Regions from separate parts of the Homo sapiens genome. Here regions 2, 3, 4 and 5 are each linked to region 1. The links are contacts of gene promoters, found by promoter capture Hi-C in blood cells and fetal thymus (Javierre and others, 2016). All regions are on one chromosome and are shown on one strand. Each heading gives the region's core, a stretch centred on a gene start or on the middle of the fragment in contact. The rest is flanking DNA. Distances are from core to core; before and after follow the strand shown.

Evidence for each region. The method cuts DNA at HindIII sites, captures the fragments that hold promoters and counts their contacts. A CHiCAGO score of 5 or more calls a contact.
Region 2: a contact is called between a fragment that was not itself captured here and the fragment with the promoter of PIGC in region 1, in 1 of 17 cell types (total CD8 T cells). The highest score is 5.2, in total CD8 T cells.
Region 3: a fragment that was not itself captured here is called in contact with the fragment with the promoter of PIGC in region 1 in 4 of 17 cell types (total B cells, naive B cells, total CD8 T cells and 1 more); the score reaches 7.4 in total B cells.
Region 4: a contact is called between a fragment that was not itself captured here and the fragment with the promoter of PIGC in region 1, in 16 of 17 cell types (total B cells, naive B cells, naive CD8 T cells and 13 more). The highest score is 15.3, in total B cells.
Region 5: a fragment that was not itself captured here is called in contact with the fragment with the promoter of PIGC in region 1 in 1 of 17 cell types (naive B cells); the score reaches 5.0 in naive B cells.

The regions. Positions count from the first base shown.
Region 1 is chr1:172,442,210-172,446,210 of GRCh38, reverse strand. It overlaps PIGC (phosphatidylinositol glycan anchor biosynthesis class C), which reads left to right and starts at 2,142. Exons shown (of 2, transcript NM_153747.2): 1 at 2,142-2,223; 2 at 3,381-4,001. The coding sequence starts at 3,589. C1orf105 (chromosome 1 open reading frame 105) reads right to left here. Exons shown (of 7, transcript NM_139240.4): 2 at 1,053-1,138. RefSeq lists enhancers at 1,754-2,063, 1,787-2,310. The HindIII fragment of the contact is 3,601 bases long and covers 1,548-4,001 here.
Region 2 is chr1:171,743,848-171,747,848 of GRCh38, reverse strand. No RefSeq gene overlaps it. Among named protein-coding and RNA genes, the nearest start is that of VAMP4, 3.8 kb to the right of the region's middle. The HindIII fragment of the contact is 1,621 bases long and covers 890-2,510 here.
Region 3 is chr1:171,774,836-171,778,836 of GRCh38, reverse strand. No RefSeq gene overlaps it. Among named protein-coding and RNA genes, the nearest start is that of METTL13, 4.8 kb to the left of the region's middle. The HindIII fragment of the contact is 4,827 bases long and covers 1-4,001 here.
Region 4 is chr1:171,797,569-171,801,569 of GRCh38, reverse strand. It overlaps METTL13 (methyltransferase 13, eEF1A N-terminus and K55), which reads right to left. Exons shown (of 8, transcript NM_015935.5): 8 at 3,854-4,001. Among named protein-coding and RNA genes, the nearest start is that of METTL13, 18 kb to the right of the region's middle. The HindIII fragment of the contact is 1,617 bases long and covers 877-2,493 here.
Region 5 is chr1:171,814,531-171,818,531 of GRCh38, reverse strand. No RefSeq gene overlaps it. Among named protein-coding and RNA genes, the nearest start is that of DNM3, 25 kb to the left of the region's middle. RefSeq lists enhancers at 1-523, 524-1,510. The HindIII fragment of the contact is 6,424 bases long and covers 1-4,001 here.

The sequences.
Region 1 (4,001 bases), core at 893-3,392:
TGCTTTCGTTATATTCAAAATTATGTAAAAATAACACAACTGAATAACGAGCACTTGAAAGCACTTGTGAATTTTGTTCTGAAAATACTAAAACCGTCTACCTATTTACTGAGAATGAGATTTTTTTTTAATGTACAGTAGACAAAGCAAAGGTACATGTTACTAAAGTGGGGATGTGGAGACAGTGATGGGAATTTGCTTATGAAGTCACTTATCCATGGGCAGGAGGGTACATGGTAGTTATCAACAGGAGGAGAAACTCTTTTTGGGGAGTCTGGCTTTTCTAACGAGCTGTTTCGAATGCCAAGGAGTCATTCCTTTTTAGTCTGTCGTGTGCCTTTGGAATGGCCTCTATGCCTGCCCTTTCTCTTTCTCTCTGCCCTCTTTCTGGTTTCTCTCATTCACCCCAACACTACCTCACACCTACCCTTCTGTCCATGTCCCCTTCCCAGAGTGGGGTTTATCACTACACTTAGGAACCATTTCATCAAAAATGGAGAAGGGACACGGTAACCCAATTATTTCAAGAGACAGTTGAAATGCTCCCTAGATATGTAATTCCTGCAATTTTGAAAAATAGATTTATGTGTCATATAGTAGTTTGTTTGGAAGGAGTAGGACTAACAGGAATGTAGGAGGGTGCCTCAAAGTTACATACAGAGTTACTATTCTATAAAGATGGGAACTTACTGTTCTAGACTTTTGATGGTAAAAATGTGAAAATTTCAGACTACAGCAGTGGAGAAAATGTGGGGTGAGAAAGAGGATGGAAGTGTTTTGAGAGACAGTGTCTAGGGGAAAAATTATCTTATACTGTTGAGTGGTAGTGGTGGAGAGGGAAAAATTTTGAGATCTCATCTCCTCTAGCCAGGCCTATACTCAGTGATCATTTTTTTCTGAGAAACCCGGATTATTTCTATTTTTAAAGCACTTGACTTGAGTTTCTCAATGGATCAAATGTGCCCTCTGATAATTGTCCCCATCCCTTAAGAAGAAATCATCTTCTGTGAGATGTTTCGTAAAACTTTTGCCCTCGGTGGCTGAGAGGTTACCTTCTGGGAAGGCTGAGCACTAATGGCTTGTTTACAAGGCTGGCCTCACTAAGCCAAGGAATCTTGTCAAATTTTGGAACAGAAGCCTAGAGGGAAATAGAGAACATTTTACAGAATATATCACACTTAAACATTGCTATCATTACGATGGCCAAAGTCAGCTAATAGCAGCCATATAGTGAACACTTTACAAACCATTTTTATATTTAACTCTTTAACCATCCTATAAAGTAGCCAAGTGCAAATAATGTCATCTCCATTTTACTGATGAAGAAATCAAAGCTCAGGTAGTGTGATTTGCCTTGAGTCACTGAGCTAGTAAATGGGTCATGTTTTCTGACTTTTATTTCCACTGTATCCTGTGTTTTACTACATCCCTTTGTTTCTTTATTACTTCCTTCTGTTTATATATCCTTTAATATTTCCATGAACTCAGTTTAATTAGCAATCTTGTCCTCACTTCTTTTAGGAGGTAAAGAGGAAAAAAACCAAGCTTTGAAGCTATAGACAACTGGATATTGATCTCTGTTCATCTACTTCCCAGGTGCCTGTCTTTGGACAAATACAACTTATCTGAGCCTTAGATTTGTCCTCTTTGAGGGGGGAGATGATATAATCAGTGTAAAGGTCAATGCACCAAAAAAGAGAGTTTCATGAGAGCAGCAATTTTTGTGTGTTTCATTCACGGCTGTATCATGAGCACCCCAAGCATGGCTTGTTACATGCAGGCATTCAATCAGTATCTGTGGAATGAACGCATGGATGCACGGGAAGTCCCAGCTGAGGGCCTGACTTAATAAAGGAGCGCAACAAAAGCGGCCATTATCTCTCACCTACTGGCCCAGCCTCTTTCCTTGTCCTCTCTTGCCTTACCCAGTCCTTCAGATGGCACATCCCATCTTTCAATAGGGGATTGCTGGGGATTTGCCTTCCTAGGCTCAGAGCATTCGGGTTTGGGCCAGTCTCCAGGAGAGGAGACCGGAGGTCCTTCGAGCAGCCAGGAGGGGGCAGCAGTCACGTCGCGATGGTTCCAGCCGGGGAAGGGTGCCCTCGCTAAGGAGATTGCGGCGGACCCGGAAGTGCTTGGCCACAGTCGCAGCCCCGGCGCCCCGAAGCGGGAAAAAGGCTGGGTGCCGCCGTCCCCCAGCTGCGCAACCCTAGGAACTCTCGGGTAGGTGGGTTCCGTGTAACGGTCAGTGTTTCCGGGGCTCCTTTTCCTCTGCTGCCTCCCGCAGACCCAAGGCTGAGTGAGGGGCGGCGGCGGAAGTGGGAGGCCCACCCAAAAAGCCAAATGGGGTGCCAGAAGAGTGAAGGCGCACCCTGGGGTCACCCTACCCTACCCCGTCCCCTCCCAGCCCCACTCTGCGGGCGGGCGCTGCCCTTTTGGGCGTCGCAGACCCTCCAACCCCGGCGGCGGCCTTAAGATTCCCGGGCTGGGATCCCTGCTGCAGAGGGGGTAACGGTGTCTGGCTTGCCAAGCAATATTTGTTGTGGTCTATCATGGAAGAAATAAAGTCGGGCAATATGAATTTTTTTTTTCTCAAATTTGCCGGATGGCTGTGGTGTTTCTGACTCTTAGTTTTCTCATTGTGAAAAAGGAATGATTATCTTCTTCGATCCTCTCAAGAGTTTCCTTGTTTTGAGTAGATTGATAGCTCTTTAAAGGATGCTAAGCTCAGCTAATGGAAGAAGAGTCTAGTTTCTTTGAGGCTTTGATTTTGGTTAAACTATAGAGCTCATACCTTTCTGTATGGTGCAGCTTACTATTGTCTTTGGATTGGTAACTTAAAAAATACAAATAACATGCCTTTGAGAACCAATAAAAACTATGGATATTATCCCTATAAATTTACACAAATCCAGATATAAGCATGCAATGTGATATACCTAAGGGATATGTGAACCACTGAGTTAAGAACTGCTTTAGAGGGAGATACAATGTGAGACACAGGCTTTGGGATAAGACTTTGGTTTGAATCCTGGCTCTGCTCTGTTACCTTAGGGCAAAGTTACTTAAGCATCTTGAATCTCAGCTTTTTTACCAAAGCAGGACTAATACTAACTTACAAGGTGGTGAGGATTAAGTGAAAGAAGATACATAAGGCACTTAGCACATAGTAGGTACTCAATAAGCGATAGCTAACAGATGTCTATTATTATTCAAGGAATTATAATTTTCAAATCTGAAATGCAGTTTTAATGTCCCATAAGGTGACTACCACATACATTTTTCTCAGACTTTTAGTAAACTGAGTTGATTTGACTTTATCTCAGTACTACTCTTGACCTTTCACAACTTTCGTAGGTTCACAGTCTCTCTTTTTCTAGGAACTTGGCTGTGTTGTCCTGCCTCAGAGACAAATTCATCTATTGTAGGCCTAGCCCCTGCCTTTGAAAACAAGGAAAGGTTGGTAGAACATCAACACAGCATGGAATTTCCAGGGAGGTCTCATTTCAAAACTTCATAAAGAACAAGAACCACCTGGACTTCTGTGAGGGCGATGATTAAACTGGCCTGAGTTTGAATGAAAGGATAATGTATGCTCAACCTGTGACTAACACCAAGGAGGTCAAGTGGCAGAAGGTCTTGTATGAGCGACAGCCCTTTCCTGATAACTATGTGGACCGGCGATTCCTGGAAGAGCTCCGGAAAAACATCCATGCTCGGAAATACCAATATTGGGCTGTGGTATTTGAGTCCAGTGTGGTGATCCAGCAGCTGTGCAGTGTTTGTGTTTTTGTGGTTATCTGGTGGTATATGGATGAGGGTCTTCTGGCCCCCCATTGGCTTTTAGGGACTGGTCTGGCTTCTTCACTGATTGGGTATGTTTTGTTTGATCTCATTGATGGAGGTGAAGGGCGGAAGAAGAGTGGGCAGACCCGGTGGGCTGACCTGAAGAGTGCCCTAGTCTTCATTACTTTCACTTATGGGTTTTCACCAGTGCTGAA
Region 2 (4,001 bases), core at 451-2,950, 700 kb after region 1:
TAGTTCTTAAGAAAACAGGCATGAAACCAAGAAAATAAATGGTAACCATTTTTAACTTTCAGAGTAGTAAAATAAATTTGTAACACAATTAGAGCATATTATTATGCAGGTTCTTCTAATGTTGCCATCTTTGTGGGAGGTAATTTCTCCAAGATAAAATTCTTGCAACATGTCACTACCTCAATAAACAAGAACAGTTAGAAGAGAAACAAAGCACCTCCCTGAGACCATCTTATAATGTCACATCTAAAGTTTCATGAGGAAGGCATCAGGGCATTTCCCATATTATTATATATATTAAAAATAATTAAACTATAGTTGAACTTATCTTTAAAAACTAAATTCCTCTTGCTTTGTTACTCATTACTATTTTCTCTGTAGACTATACTCACATTGCAAAGGACATAACTGAGACGGCTGGCAAACTTTGATATGGATGCTTTGATAGAAAATAATATTGTATCAATGTTAAATTTTCTGAATTTGACAACTGAATTACAGTTATGAAGACAATGTTCTTGTTCTTAGGAGATATCTAATGAAGTATTTAGGGGTAAAGAGGCATGATAGCTATAACTAATTTTCAAATAATGCATGCCGAGGGGAGATATAAATTTAAAGAGAAGTAATAAAGCAAACTTAGTGAAATGTTAACAAACCACGTAAACTCTCTGGCACTCTGTTTCTTCATCTACCTGGAGACAAAAAGAGGGCTGAACTATTTTGTTTTTATTCACACTGTCATGAAATCCATTTAGGAGTTGAGGTCAGCATTAGAAAAGCGTTATTAATGAATCTGGATAGAGGATTTAAAAGCATTCAAAATCAAAACTAAAATAAACTAATATCATATTTATATAACACCAAGGCACTCTAAGCATGAAAAGCTTATGGTTAACTACATGATATCTGTATACTTCTTCTCCAAACTAATTGAGTTACATGCTTACAAGAGTCAATTTGCATTTGTACTCCAAAGTATTTATGCCTATTATACTTATAGAATATATTTAAATATGTAAACTAATGAAATACAAATAGAAAGTTATTTTCTATAAAAACTAAATTGATAAACATGAACAACAAACAAAAATTACTATAGAACTAGGCACAGGTAAGACAAACCTGTAAAACTTTGGAGAAAAAATTGTACAAAAATCTAGACTGACTGGGCATTCAAATTGCTTGAAAGGTGTCTTTAACTTCTTATTCCACTTTGAAGAAAATGAAACTGTAAACTGTAAACAATGCAACTTGTAACAAAGACAAAGCAGGTGTTCCAACCAGCAAATTCATGCTCAGATAAAAGGTCTTGGGCCTACTACCAAGACTGGTGAGTGAACATATACATTTGAGTCAAAATAAAATGACTAAAGTATATATTTGCCATTTTTAAATATGTACCACTGTAACTGACTTTTTAAATTAACTGGTCCAGTGGTCCCAATTTTAGGGGAAGAGAGTGCCTCTACCATTGTTTTAATTGAAAAACTGATATACATGGTAAAGATATTCCAATAGTACAAAACACTACACATCAAGAAAGTTTCCCTTCTGTATTAGTCTTCTAGGGCTGCTATAATGAAATACCATGGACTAGGTGGCTTAACTACAGAAATTTATTTTCTCACAGTCCTAGAGGCTAAAAGTCCAGGATCAAGGAGTCATCAGGGTTGGCTTATGGTGTGGCCTCTCTTTCTGGACTGCAAATGGCCATCTTCTGTGTTCTCATATGGCCTCTTCTCTGTGCCCATGCACTCAGACACTAGCCCTACAGGATTAGGGTTTTGCCTTTTTGATTTCATTTAACCTTAATTATTGTCCTAAAGGCCCTATCTCCAAATCTAGTCACACTGGAAGTTAAGACTTCAACATATGAATTTTGAGGGGACATAATTCAGTCCATAACACTTTCCATGCCAGATTCACAGTCCTCCTGGTGTGTGTGTGTGTGTGTGTGTGTGTGTGTGTGTGATGCTCAAATGGAAGTAGAGTCTACACACTATTTTGCACCTTACTTTTCTCACCTTATAGCATCATAGAGGTATTCCATGTCAGCACATATAGATCTATCTAGTTCATTTTAATGGCTGCATACTATTCTATTGAATGGCTAGACTATGACTCATTTCAGCAATTTCCTATTGCTGAACATTTAGAGTTTTTTTTTTCACTCTGTTACAAAAATCCTGTAACAGATATTTTTATAGAATACTTTTATATACAACCTGTATACCCATGGGATAAATTTTAGAAGTAAAATTATTAGATCAAAAAGAACTTCATATAAAATTTTGATACATATAATTACCATGAAATTTTTAAAAATGCACCAATTTTTATACTCTTACTGTTTAAGAATGCTTGTTCCTCCCACGCTGCTCCCATACCACACATACACACACCCAATATTGTAGTATCAAATTTTTTTTATTTTTGCTATTGAGCTAACACAAAAGATCAAACTGTCAAATCAGGCTCAAATCAGAGATTTTACTCAGTATCAAGCTTTACTAATAGTTTCAAGGATACCAGTAATCCCCAGGTCCTTTCTTCTTGCTTTGGATGCATCCTGGCCCAGGACAGTAGATGTGGTTTCTAAATCAAGTGTACAGTCACCCCACTTACACAGAAGGAGCCAAATCAGTTACAAAACACTTCCATTTTATGCTACGTTACATAACTTCCGCGGTATTTTCCAGTTAATCATACCCCTGAAATCCGCATTGATTCTTTTTTGTTTTGTGAGAGGGAGTCTCATTCTGTTGACCAGGATGGAGGGCGGTGGCGCGATCTCTGCTCACTGCAACCTCCGCATCTCCAGTGCAAGCTATTCTTCTGCCTCAGCCTCCTGAGTAGCTGGTGTTACAAGTGTACACCACCACACTCAGCTAATTTTTGTAGTTTTGGTAGAGACGGGGTTTTGCCATGTTGGCCAGGCTGGTAACTCCTGACCTCAAGTGATCCACCTGCCTCAGCCTCCCAAAGTGCTGGAATTACCACATCGATTCTTAATGTGTTTACCATAAACAATCCCAGCCCTGGGACATCCTGTTAGAGGAATTCCGTAAATATGGACTCTCTTGCTAGCAAATGCCATTAGTTTGTTTGCCAGGAGGTCTGTAATTAGTATATACTTTATATTTTATAAAAATCACATGCTTTTTTGCTTGCTTTAACCTTGCTTTCCTGAGAGTATTTCCCTACGAAGGGAGAGACTGGATTGCAGATCTTCTGCTCAACTCCTTCTTTCTCAGTCACTGATAGATGAAAAATGGTATTTCCTTGTTCACTTTTACATTTTAAGTAATGTTGAACATTTAGCAACAAAATATTGAAAGCTAGAAGGGAGATGAATCAAGATGCAATTGCCTTAGCAGACTTGAAAAGTAGGAATCCCAAGCAGGCCATGAAGCAACCTGATACACACAGTGAAACCCTGTATAAGGCTCAGGAATTGGAAACACCACGTAAAGCTGAAGAGAGCATGATGTGAGCTATAAATACAGGCGGAATGGTATAAAGTCTGTTTAAGAATGAATCAGATGCTGAGATTCCCTTTGCTATCCCATCAAAAACCCAGAGATTTAGTCCTGAAAGACAGCAAAACGCTGATTCTCTAGCTAGGAGGACAGCAGGCCCTCTTAAGGATGAAGGTGTCATGTTGAAAAAGGGGAAAAGAAAATTAGAGGACTAACATCTGAATAACTGAAGCTCACTAAAAAGAAAATGGAGGAAATAAGTAACTCAAGTTGCTTGGAGTTCTGACTCTAAGCTCAGTGCTATTATAATCTTTTAGGCTTACTGGTATATTTGATTCATGTTAACTGTAAAATGACATTTTCTAAGTTTCACAAATATTGGGGTTAGTCAAAGGGACTTTGTTCAGGTGATTAAGGGTGGGGCTTGCATTACCCCTCTCCTAAGCGATCATTCCAAAATGACTGGCAGGACTAAAGAATTATGTTTAAAAAACAAAAAAACCCAAAGAATGGATTATC
Region 3 (4,001 bases), core at 1,127-3,626, 670 kb after region 1:
GGTATGTGTTATCATTAGTATACTTAGTTAATTTAAACCAATAAGATGTTAAAATGCTTTGTGTTTTATTAGGATCCCCAGAGTGGTTAAAAATATGATTTAAAATGCAAGCTAAATTTAGATAAAGCCATTCAGTATTGTGGAGTTTTTTCCTAAAAATATAAATCCAGACCTCTGGATATATAATTTACAGTCAAACTTACTTAATTGAAACATTCTCATAATTGTGGTAATATTCAATTGATTGTTACTACGATTAATTGTAAAATAATAAAGAGGGAATAAAAAGCATCTCTGACAATTTGGGAGGCAGAGGATGAGAGAGGCAAAATAATGCTCCCCTAAAGATGTCTACCTCCTAATCCCCTGAACCGAAACTGTGAAGGTAACAGGTTACAAGGCAAAGAAGAATTAAGGTTGTAGATGCAATTAAGGATGCTAATCAGCTGACATAGCAAGATTATCTAACTGAGCTCAATGTAATCACAGGGTCCTTTTTCATTTTCTTTCTTTTTTTTTTTTTTTTTTTTTGAGACGGAGTCTTACTCTGTTGCCCAGTCTGGAGTGCAGTGGCACGATCTTGGCTCACTGCAACCTCCGCCTCCCAGGTTCAAGCAATTCTCCTGCCTCAGCCTCTTGAGTAGCTACGGATTACAGGCGTGCACACACCCAGCTGATTTTTGTATTTTTAGTAGTCTCACCATGTTGGCCAGGCTGGGCCACAAGGGTCTTTTAAAGTAGAAGAGGGAGAGACAGAAGGGCTTGGCCCAATGTTTCTGGCTTTGAAGATGAAGGAAAGCAGCCATGAACCAAGGAAAGGCGGTGACCTCTAGAACCTGGAAAAGGAAAAGAAATGAATTCTCCTGTAGAGCCTCCAGAAGAAATACGGCCCTATTGACACCTTGATTTTAATTTATTGAGACTTGTCAGACTTCTGACTGATCCAACTGTAAGATAATAAATTTGTATTGCATATAGTACTAGTTTTTGGTAATTTGTTACAGTAGTGATAGGAAACTAATACGGAACATAAACAGAAGAGAGAAAGAGAGAGAGAGAGTATGTGTGGTTGGGGCAGAAGGTCACAGTGGGGAGAAAGCAGCAGAAGATACAACTAGAGGCTGAGGTAAAGGGCAGGTTTTGAGGAGTCTTCTATTCCACATATTTAGCTTCAGCCTGTCAGGCCACAGGAAGTCAACAGAGAAGCAGAGTCATGACAGAAAGACCTGATCTGAGAGATGTTCTCAGGAAAGACTGAGGCACTTGATGACTGATTGAATAGGGGGAATAAAAGACTGAGGGACTCATAAATGACTCCTACATCGGCCTCTGGATGACTGAAGAAATAGTCTGTAGAAAGAAACGGGGAAGGAGAAAGGGGTATTATTTGTAGAACTGTTGCTAGAAAAGAATTTAGAGGTTATCACTCCAGTAAAAACCAGAGCCAGAGCTAAAAGCCAGTCTCCCCACCCTGCATGCCTACCCCAGGGCTCATACCCTTCTCACTTCCTGTCAGTGGTATCCAGTTGGAGTTGGTAGGTCCAACACATGAAAATGTTTCACGAGTGGGATATAAAATTAAGTAAAGGGAATGTCTCTTTGGTGTACAGGGAGTGGCTCATATAATGCTGGAAACTATTTCAAATTGGAAATCATCTTAGCAAATGGGTTTGTTTTCCACATTTGAGAAGTTTAAAAATGAATGTTCTCCTGTATCTTGGGATAATAGAAGGCAGACACAATAACATCCTAGGGTAACATTCTGCCATTTTATTAGCTGAGTGTCAACACTTTTCTTGACGATATTGTTGACCTGAAAAGTGACTATCAAGCTGATATTGGATTCCTAAGATTGGGATGATGATAATAGCTACTTATTTATTTATTTATTTGTTTGTTTGTTTGTTTATATAAGACAGGGTCTCACTGTGTCACCCAGGCTGGAGTGCAGTGGTGCAGTCACAGCTTACTGCAGCCTCGACTTCATGGGCTCAAGTGATCCTTCCACCTCAGTCTCCCAAGTAGCTGGGACTACAGGTACGAGCCTCCATGCCTGGCTAATTTAAAAAAATATATATTTTTGTAGAGACAGGCTCTCCCTATGTTGCCCAGGCTGGTCTCAAACTGCTGACTTCAAGGGATCCTCCCACCTCAGTCTCTCAAAGCGGTAGGATTACAGGTGTAAGCCACCATGCCCAGTGCATCATAGTATTTTTTAGTTTGTATAGCACTTGTGATTGGCCAAGAATTTTTCTCATACACTGAATCCATGGGAAGGAGAGGCTCAGAGCTACAGAGTTAATTTTCACATTGGCAGAGAATCCCTTTGGGTGAATGTGCCAGCCTTGTACAAGATTAACAAATTCGTTTCAACATAGATGATTACACACTGCTTTCTTAAATATATATACCTATACATATATAATTAAGGCAAAATTCCAATTGATTACAAGTAAGTGAAAAAAAAAAGTTATATATGACTGAGCGAATTGAGCCGTGACTGCCTCTGGTATTGTATTTGATTCCCAGGATTTTCTTTGTGCAGTAGTTTCCTACTCTGTCACTAAGGGCGTCTGTTGATGGATTGGTTTCCTCATATGCATGGACTGCAAGGCATTAATATAGGGCATATTATACATTGCAAGTTGTTTGCCTTTGGGGCCAGTAGGCAATAACATTTTGAAAGCTGCAAGACTGGGGAGATGAAGGAATGATGCCAAGGTTAACAGGCTGTGCATGAATACATTTGACCCCTATATGAGGGGGCTCACAAAGCCTCCTTTTGACTGTCTTTGTTTTCTACAGCCTGGATACTGGGAAAAACCACAAGGGTAAGCTATTAGACTGTTTTCTTCATAATTTTATTCCAAACTTCAGTTTCTTTGCAGGAAAAGAAAAACTTGAAAAACATTTTGTTTTTCTCCTACACTCTAGCACTCTAACCCATGACCATCTCATGTATCCCATTTTTATAGATGCTCTCTGTCCTCAGCCCATAACAATATTTTTCTACCACTAAGGGAATGGATTTTAAAACAGCATTTAATAAATAAAATTCACTTGAGTACTCCACCCAGAGGATTTTTTAACGTTCAGATCCAGAGTCCTCAAAGAAACCAGAAAAACAAAACTCCCTTTAGTCCAACAAAAAAGTTATAGTATGTAATACTTCTCTAAAACTAAAACTGTTTTCTTGCCATGGGGCTGCACGAATGACCTTTTCCTAAGAAGAATCACAAATTATGGTGCCAAAACATTTTACTGTTCTTAATTCATCTCATCTTTGAATAGTATATCTTCATCCTCACTGCTGACATACAGTAGAAAAAAAATTTCCACGTGTCAAAATTTCATCCAAGCAGCAGCTCTGATGTTTTTCATTTTTTTAATTTTTAAAAAATTTTAAACAGTTCATCATGTAAGCTCTGGTGTTTGAAGACTCAAAAGAGAAATGTCCTCAGAGAATATGGTATATTTCTGAAGACAGCTGACAGAAGAGGGAACCCTTAGCTAGAAACTATATAGCACAGAAGTTAAGGTTGGGATTTGGAATCAGAATGATCTAGACATGAGCTACCATGCTGGGCTGATTTTTTTTTAATAAGATTTTTTGAACTGAGATATGCTTCACATAAAATTCACCATCTAAAAGTGTACACTGGGCAGGCATGGTGGCTCACACCTGTAATCCCAGATCTTTGGGAGGCTGAAGCAGGAGGATTACTTGAAGCCAGGAGTTCAAAACCAGCCTGGGTAACATAGGGAGACCCTGTCTCTACAAAACAATTTAAAAATTAGCAGGGCATGATGGTGTATGCATATGATCCCAGCTACTTGGGAAGTTGAGGTGGGAGAATCACCAGAGCCTGGGGCTGGCAGGGTTGGGGGTGGGAGTGGCTCAAAACTGCAGTGAGCTGTGATTGTACCGCTACACTCCAGCCTGGGTGACAGAGTGAGACCCTGTCTCAAAACATAAAAAATAAAAAAGTATGCACTTTTGT
Region 4 (4,001 bases), core at 436-2,935, 640 kb after region 1:
ACGTGGGCTAGAAAAACAAAACCATGAGTCCAGCCTTCAGTCACTTTAAGGGGGCAGTTTTTATTGAGGCTGGATTTTTTTGTCTGCCTAGCAAGAGGATCTAAGAAGACTCTAAGCAAACATCTGACCATCTTGTATGCTGCCCTTACACTTTATGCACAGGTGGTTGCTGAAGTCATCCACGTGCTGTGTAATTTGTTCTCCCCAGCTAGTTGGTGAGCAGAAGCTATCTTTCCTCTTTTTATCAACACAAGCACAGTGTCTGGCACAGAACAACCTCTCCAAAAAAATGCCAGTTGGGTATATAAAAAAGAAAAATCCAACTTAATGGTTTTTATTATCGACCATTTAGCTGTTAACAAATCTGCAGGAATCAAATGGCAAGACAAGCCACAAGAGGGAAACTGTATGACTTATGGTTTACTAGACTTTGAGCTTTATTAAGCAGTCCTTAGGAGGTACACTCAGGGCCCAATTATAGCAGGGAGTGAGGCTGCTGTGCCCCATGGAGGAAATCGTCCAATGCAACAAGCTGACTCCTCACACTACTGCCATCACTCAAAGGGCAAAGAGCTAAGGTGTGGGCTAATGTGAAGGTCGGAGGGGAGTATGTTCCAATTACCAAGTGACTGCTGATGTTTGCATTTCAGAGCTAAGCCAGCAGTCATTAATGAGACTAGCTGGCAATTCCTTCCTCCTTACCTTGTGACATATCCATCCACAGAACCTCTTCTCCAGGGGTCCTCAATTTTGGCTGCAAAACAGCATCCATCACCTGGAAAGCTTTTTTAAAATTCTTATGCACAGGCTGCACCCCAGACCAATTAAATCAGAGTCTGTGGGGGTGGGGCCAGGCCTAGGCATTTTTTTAAAGCTTCCCAGATATATTCAATTTCTATGGCTGCTGTAAAGTTACTACAAATTTAGCGGCTTAAAACAACACAAATTCTTATCTTATAGTTCCGTATCAGGAGTCCAAAATGGGTCTCACTGAGCTACATTGAAGGTATTGGTAGAGTTGCACTCCCTGCTGGAAGCTCTAGGGAAGCTCTAGTTTTCTTACCTTCTCCAGCTTCTAGAGGCTGCCCATGTTCCTTAGCTAGTGGCCTATGGTCTTCAAAGCCAGCAATGACTGGTGAGTCTTCCTCACATTGCTTCACTCTTGACACTGAGTCTTCTGCCTGCCTCTTCCACATTTTAAGACCCTTGAGATTACGTGGAGTCCACCCAGTGTCTGTATCTGATTACTCAGAATAATCTCCCTATTTTAAAGACAGCTCATTAGCAACATCAAATCCATCTGCTACATTAATTTCCCTTTGTTGTGTAGTGTAACATAACATTCATAGGTTGCAAGGATTAGGACATGGACATCTTTGGGAGAACATTATTCTGCTTACCATATCCAATGACTCCAATGTGCAGCTGAGAATAACTGCTGGTTCTGCCAGGCACTGTGGCTCATATCTGTAATCCTAGCACTTTGGGAGGCCAAGGCAGGCAGATTGCTTGAGCCCAGCAGTTCGAGACCAGCCTGGACAACATGGTGAAACCCTGTCACTACCAATAACACAAAAATGAGCTGGGCATGGTGGTGTGCGCCTATAGTCCCAGCTACTCAGGAGGCTGAGGCAAGAGGACTGCTTGAGCCTGGGAGGCAGAGGTGGCAGTGAGCCAAAATCATACCACTTCACTCCAGTCTGGACAACAGAGTGAGACCCTGTCTCAAAAAAAAAAAAAAAATAACTACTGGTCTACCCAATCCATAAGAAGACAGACTTAGAGAAGAGGCCCAGTTAGCAGGCAGCCATGACAGAAGACTGGAGGCACACACTGAAAAATTGGTGAGGGACAAGGGCAAAAAGGCAGAGAAGGGCAATAGGCAGGCTTACCAATTTTACATTGTCACAGAACTTTTTTAGGATGGGGGGAGGGGCGAGGGCACAAACTGTCATGTGATTTATTCTCATTCAGTTCTCTGATAGTCCTGGGAAGCTAAATTGTACACTCTCCCAAGGATGATGGGACCATCCCCACTCAGCTGTAGCCATTAAAGAAAATTGAGGTCATAGATAAGACTTTTCCAGACTTTTGTAACTCATTGCTATCAGCTTGCTCCTTGTTTTGTACTCAGAAGCTGGGTGCATGCCAGATTCTCAGGAATTCCATAGGCTATCTCCCCTATAATCTCTCTATGCAAAATAGATTATAACTTGAAAATGTATACTGATTGGCCAACATTTTAATGTCAACACACACACACACACACACACACACACACGCACACACGCACGAGATTTCTGGCTTCTCTTAAAGACCTAGCTATGCTAAGACAGTGCTCCTGCAAGACAGCTCAGCTGGGACAGCCGCTGCCTTTAGAGGGGATATTTATTCTCTGGTTTGCCACAGGTCTCATCCTAGCCTTTTTGTTTTATACCTGGCTCACTCACTCCACATATTTGTTACTTGCTTGGTCTGGTAGGCATTGAAGCTTCTAACCCTCCCCCCTCCTCTAGAGCGCTCACCCCTAAAGTTAGGCAAAATTCCCATAAGGAACCATTTGCTTGTCATTAAGGCAAAAGTGAAAAGCTCTCCAGTGGAAAAGATGGGATTCAGGCCAATGGCTGTCTGTACACACACCACTTTCCTCACAATCCAGCAAGCTCCAGAGGGGAGTCAGACTAGGGTTTGAGTAAGCAGGCTGCAGCCACCAAGTGTTCTGGTGAACACACTGGTCTTCGTTGGTACAAATTTCATTTGTAGGAAATTAAGCCGAAAACTGCCTCACTTCTGTCCCTTGGTCTTTCTCCAGCCTTCAGCACATAACCAATTTCCTTCTTCTTTTATACTTAAGTCTTGATAATCATCACCCATGAGTGTCTCTTCCCACCTCCAAATGTGGGAAGCGACATGTAAATTCGTGCCTCTGTAGACCATTGCCCCTAAGATTTAACTGAGACCTTATTCTGATAACGCCTAGAGCTTGGCCATGCCACCCAAATGTGCTGCTCCAAACTCTGCACAGCATGAGGGTGATCTGACCAAGGACAGGCAGATGAGCTCCTCTGACTCAGACCCTGGGCCTCCATAACCCATCCTGACACTGCACAAGCTCAAGAGAAAAAAAAAAAATAGAGTGGCCAGGCACAGTGGCTCATGCCTGTAATCTCAACACTTTGGGAGGCCAAGGCAGGTGGATGTCTCTACAAAAAATGAGCCAGGTATGGTGGTACATGCTGTAGTCCCAGCTACCTGGAAGGCTGAGAGTTGGGAGGATCATCTGAGCCCAAAAGGTCAAGGCTGCGGTGAGCCGTGATGGTGCCAATGCACTCCAGCCTGGGTGACAGAGACCTTGTCTCAAAAACAAGGAAGAAAAAAGAAAGGACTTGCCAAGTAAGGTCCTCTGGGGTACACAGACCTGACATGAGGGATAATCTTCCCGTTACGGGGTTCCAGGGGAAGATCCCCTCCTAAAGAAAGAGAACCAAGTATTTCTAATGGGTAAGATCTAAAAACACTTCTCTGCACTCCCTCCTCTCCTTAACAGACTGACACTACTTTCTAAGGATGACAACCTAACTGAAATACAGACAGTCTCTGACTTACAATTTTTCAAGTTTACAATGGGTTATCAGGGTATTAAATGCATTTTCTACTTATGATGGATTTATCAGGATATAACCCCATCGTAGGCTGAAGAGCATCTGTATGCTTCAACTGAAAGGTCAGGGTCCATTTTTAAAGGGCCTGTGGAAAGAAGAGCCAGGTGGTGAATGGTGACAATGCCTATTTTCCATGGCACTGCTCATTAAGTCAACCTCGGTATAATTAGGAAAGACAAAATTCAAGCCAGTCTTGGAATCATTGGTTTAATGGTTCTGAATAAATGGTTAAGATTGATGTTTCCAGCCAAGTGAGATTTGGGTTTAGATATAGTTTGGGCTTAAGTATCCTTTATCTCAGATTAAATGAGACAGTGCATGTAAACCACTTAGAAGAAT
Region 5 (4,001 bases), core at 607-3,106, 630 kb after region 1:
TATAAGGGTCTCCAATGGGAGAGTGGGAGGAGAGTGAAGTGGGTATGTATAACCCTGACTCCATCCCTGTTGGTTCACTGTAAGTTGACTGTGGCCTTAAGATGATGGCCACTGCTCCTCTCAGGTGACTTTCTCCAACTTCTACTCCCCCGTGCTCCAATAGCCACTCTCCCCACTCATGCTTCTTCAGCCAAGTAATGGCTCCCCACACTTGCTTTCTCTGAGACCCTGCACCATCCCTTGCTGGTTTCCCTGAACCCTGCTCACACCCTTGTGAATAGTCTCTCTACCCAGCACCCTTCAATTGCCTACTGTGAATATGCCATATGTCTTACTGGGTTCCTGGGTGATATATGTTAGTCCTGTTCCCACCTTCTAACTCTTGCTCAATCCTCTGAGCTCTAATTCTAAACAGTTGCTTCTCTTGATACCAAATCAAAGGAAAGAGCATCATCATATCACATCAAGCAGCTCCCACTGCCTGTTACCCGTGAGGACCTTCCAGGAGTGCAAAAGCTCCTCACATCCACACTGCTTGGCTCTGCTGGTAAGTTCTGGAGTACAAATGTCTGTACCTGCAGACAGCTGTAGCTTTCTCTCAGTAAACAAATTGGCCCCAGCCACGGAGACATTAGTGGAAACAAGACAGTGACTCATCAGAGAAGCTACAGTCACTTGACCCCCTGTGACTCAGACACATTGTGTTGTCAACAGGGCACTGAGCTGAATAAAAGCTGAATAAACCAATGCTTTGCCTCACCCAGGCTCCTGGCAATCAATGAGTTAAAAAGCACTGAGAATATTAGTCTATTTGCTCCTCCCCTCAAATATCTCTCCTGTGTATCTTCCAACCTTTCTCTGTCATCCCTCCTCTTTCTTCCCCACCCACAAAAAAAAAAAAAAAATTGTTGAAAATGAATCAGATACAGGACACAAGGGTTGCACTTCCAAGATAACAAGCACACGGCCACCAGCCAGCACTGCACTTTGCTTTAATCATTTAGTGGTGCTTGGTATCCACAATTCCAAAAGCCCTGCTTCTCCTGTCTTCCAATTTTAGTCTTAACAAAAGAACACAATTTGAAAAGCCAGTACCCTTAGCTGCCTGGCTTCTGATCCAGTCTCTCTTCCCTAATTATTTCCTTTCTTGGTTGCAACTCCTTCAGCTTTTATAATTTTAAGACCTGTGCCTTTGGCCTGGCCTTGCAAAACTTTGCATATATTAGCTAGATAACTTGTTGAGCATAACATGTTCAATGAAATAACAATAAGCAAGTACCAAGTGTTCAGCATGTACTAAGGCCTTTACTTAGGTTATCCCATTTAATTATTTTAATAACCATGGGAGACTGTGTGTGTGTGTGTGTGTGTGTGTGTGTGTGTTTTACAAATGAGGACAGGCTCAGATGAGTTAAGTGGTTTAGCTATGGCCATGCAGTTACAGTTAATGATGAAAAAAGAATATGAATTTGAATCCAGGTCTATCTATCCCTCGATTCCATAATTTTTACCATTTTCCTACTTCTGTATAGATTTAATTTTCAAAATACAGAGTTCTTCAACTTCAGACAAAAATTCTCAAGAGAAGGCAAAATATGCCATGTTAATTTTTGTAATTAAGTTTAGCACTCATTTATTGAGCACATACTAGGTAACAGGCCATGTGCAATATACCAGAGGCACAAAGGTGGAAAAGATGCCATCTCTGCTTTGAAAGAGCTCACAGTCTACGTATAGAAGAGACACAGCTTCTAAATTTCTTTTAAGTCCCCTGGTTTCCCTTCAGCCCTGGGATTATATAAAAATAATTTTTTGCCTTTGTTTGTGTCAACATCAGAGCTGAAAGATTTCTACTTCTTACTCAGCAACTACAATTAAGACCAGAATAGATGAGCACATTTATGTGTATTTTAGAAAAAGGAAGAAAGGAAAAAGAAAGAAAAAAAAGAAGGGAAGGAGGGAAGGAGGGAGGGAGGAGGGGAGGGGAAGGGAAGGGAGTAGGGAGAAAAGGAAGAATCAGTACATTGGCCTGATTAGTGCTTAAGGAAACAAAGGAACAAATGCTTGAAATCGAAGCTGTCTCCAGAATTCCATGGTATAAGGTCCCTACACCTACATGGCAGGATTCATTCAATAAAAATTTCTTGAACATTTATTATAAGCTATGAATAGAGGCAAAGCGTTCATAGTCAAATGGGTAGAAGGACAAGTTAATCAATAATTACAGCCCAATGTGAGAAAAATCACAGCAGCAGTTCTCATAACACCCCGTGAGAAAACAGGAGAGGAGAATCTAAAGCACACAGGATAGCAGAGAAAGTGAGGATACGGGAAGAAAGTGATATTTGAGCCAAGACCTGAGGTGAAGTGGGAGTTAGCCAAGAGAAAAAGTTGGGAAGAAAACTCCGGAAAGTACACGGGTTAAGCAAAAAACAATGGGGGTAAAAGAACCCCAGGCCTTTTGGTGAGAACCATTGAACACTTGCCTGAAATTCACACCATTAAAGTCACCCCAAATTTTATGTTTTAATTTTTATATGTTTTATTTTATTTATTTAATAATTTTACTTTAAGTTCTGGGATACTTGTGCTGAACGTGCAGGTTTGATAAGTAGGTATACATGTGCCATGGTGGTTTGCTGCACCCATCAACCTTATTTTCATATTTTTAAATAGGTGATACAACCATGGCTCAAAAATTAAAACAATGTGAAAGAGAACCTACTGAAAAACCTTGTTACTGTGCCTGTCTTCGTCCTCCCCATCCTCCCCAGCCCATGCACCTGTCCCCATCCCTTAAGTAACTATTATGAAATAGTCCTTTGTATGTCTTTCCACTGCTTCTTTATGCAAATACAAGTCAATACGACTATATATATGTACATAATTCAAGACTTTCTGAAGGCATATGCGTTTTTTACTACGCTAAAGCATTGTATTACTTGGAGAAAGTAAAATACATATTTTAACGTTCAAAATAATGATTTTCTTGGATTGTTATTGTTGGTAGTCTTCATGGATGGAGTGCCCCCTACATACCATTACAGCTAAGGTCACAACTTCATTTTATAGATGAAGAGAAATGAGACTTAGAAACGTCAAGTAACGTGTCAGGTGCAGACAGCTAGTGAGTGGCAGAACTGGGGTCAGCAGAGGGAGGTGGTGCCCCCTCCTCCAGAATCCTATTTCAGAGAAATGGCCCTACCATTCACCTAATCACTAGAGCCAGAAACCTGAGTCCTTCTCAGCTCACATGAGGTCAATCACCAAGTCCTATTGATCTGAGCCTGTTATTATCTTTCAAATCCATTCCCTCCTCTCCACCCCATCATTGTCTCTCACCTGGTCAAGACCTAGATTTCTGACTGGTCTTTCTCCTCTAGACTGATGTTGCCTCCAATGTAGCCTCCATTCTGCTGCTGGAGTGATCTTTATAACACATAAATCTGATGGTATCTCTCTGCCTCAAAATCCTTCCAAGGCTCCCAGTTGCTAAGAGTATGAAACCTAACTCCTTTGCATGGCATAGTTGAGCCCTACTCACATTTCCTGACATTCCCACCACAAACCTAATGCTTCAGAAAAACCAAACCACTTCAAGTTTCTAGAATCCTCCAGATGTCTTCTGTTTTGGGTCTTTGCCCAGCCAAGTCCTCTGCCTAAACCACTCTTCTCACCCTTGGCAAACTCCCCATCCTTCAGCTCATGCAGTATATTTTCTGGAAGCCACCCACGTCTCCCCTAAGCAGAGTGGCACAGTCTTTGCCTGTGTTTTTGTTCATACCGATATGAAAGCAGTCACTTTGTGGTCATGAATGGTTTTTGTGTGTTTCTCCACATTAATCTTCACATTCTTTCAAACTAAGAACAACAGTAATTTACTTCTAATTTTATTTTATTTTATTTTTAGTGTAGTCAAATGAAGCAGTGGGAACAGAGCAGGAACAAAGGAACAAAGAAATCTGTTACTGGTTGTGATCGATTGGTTGTAAACACCACCG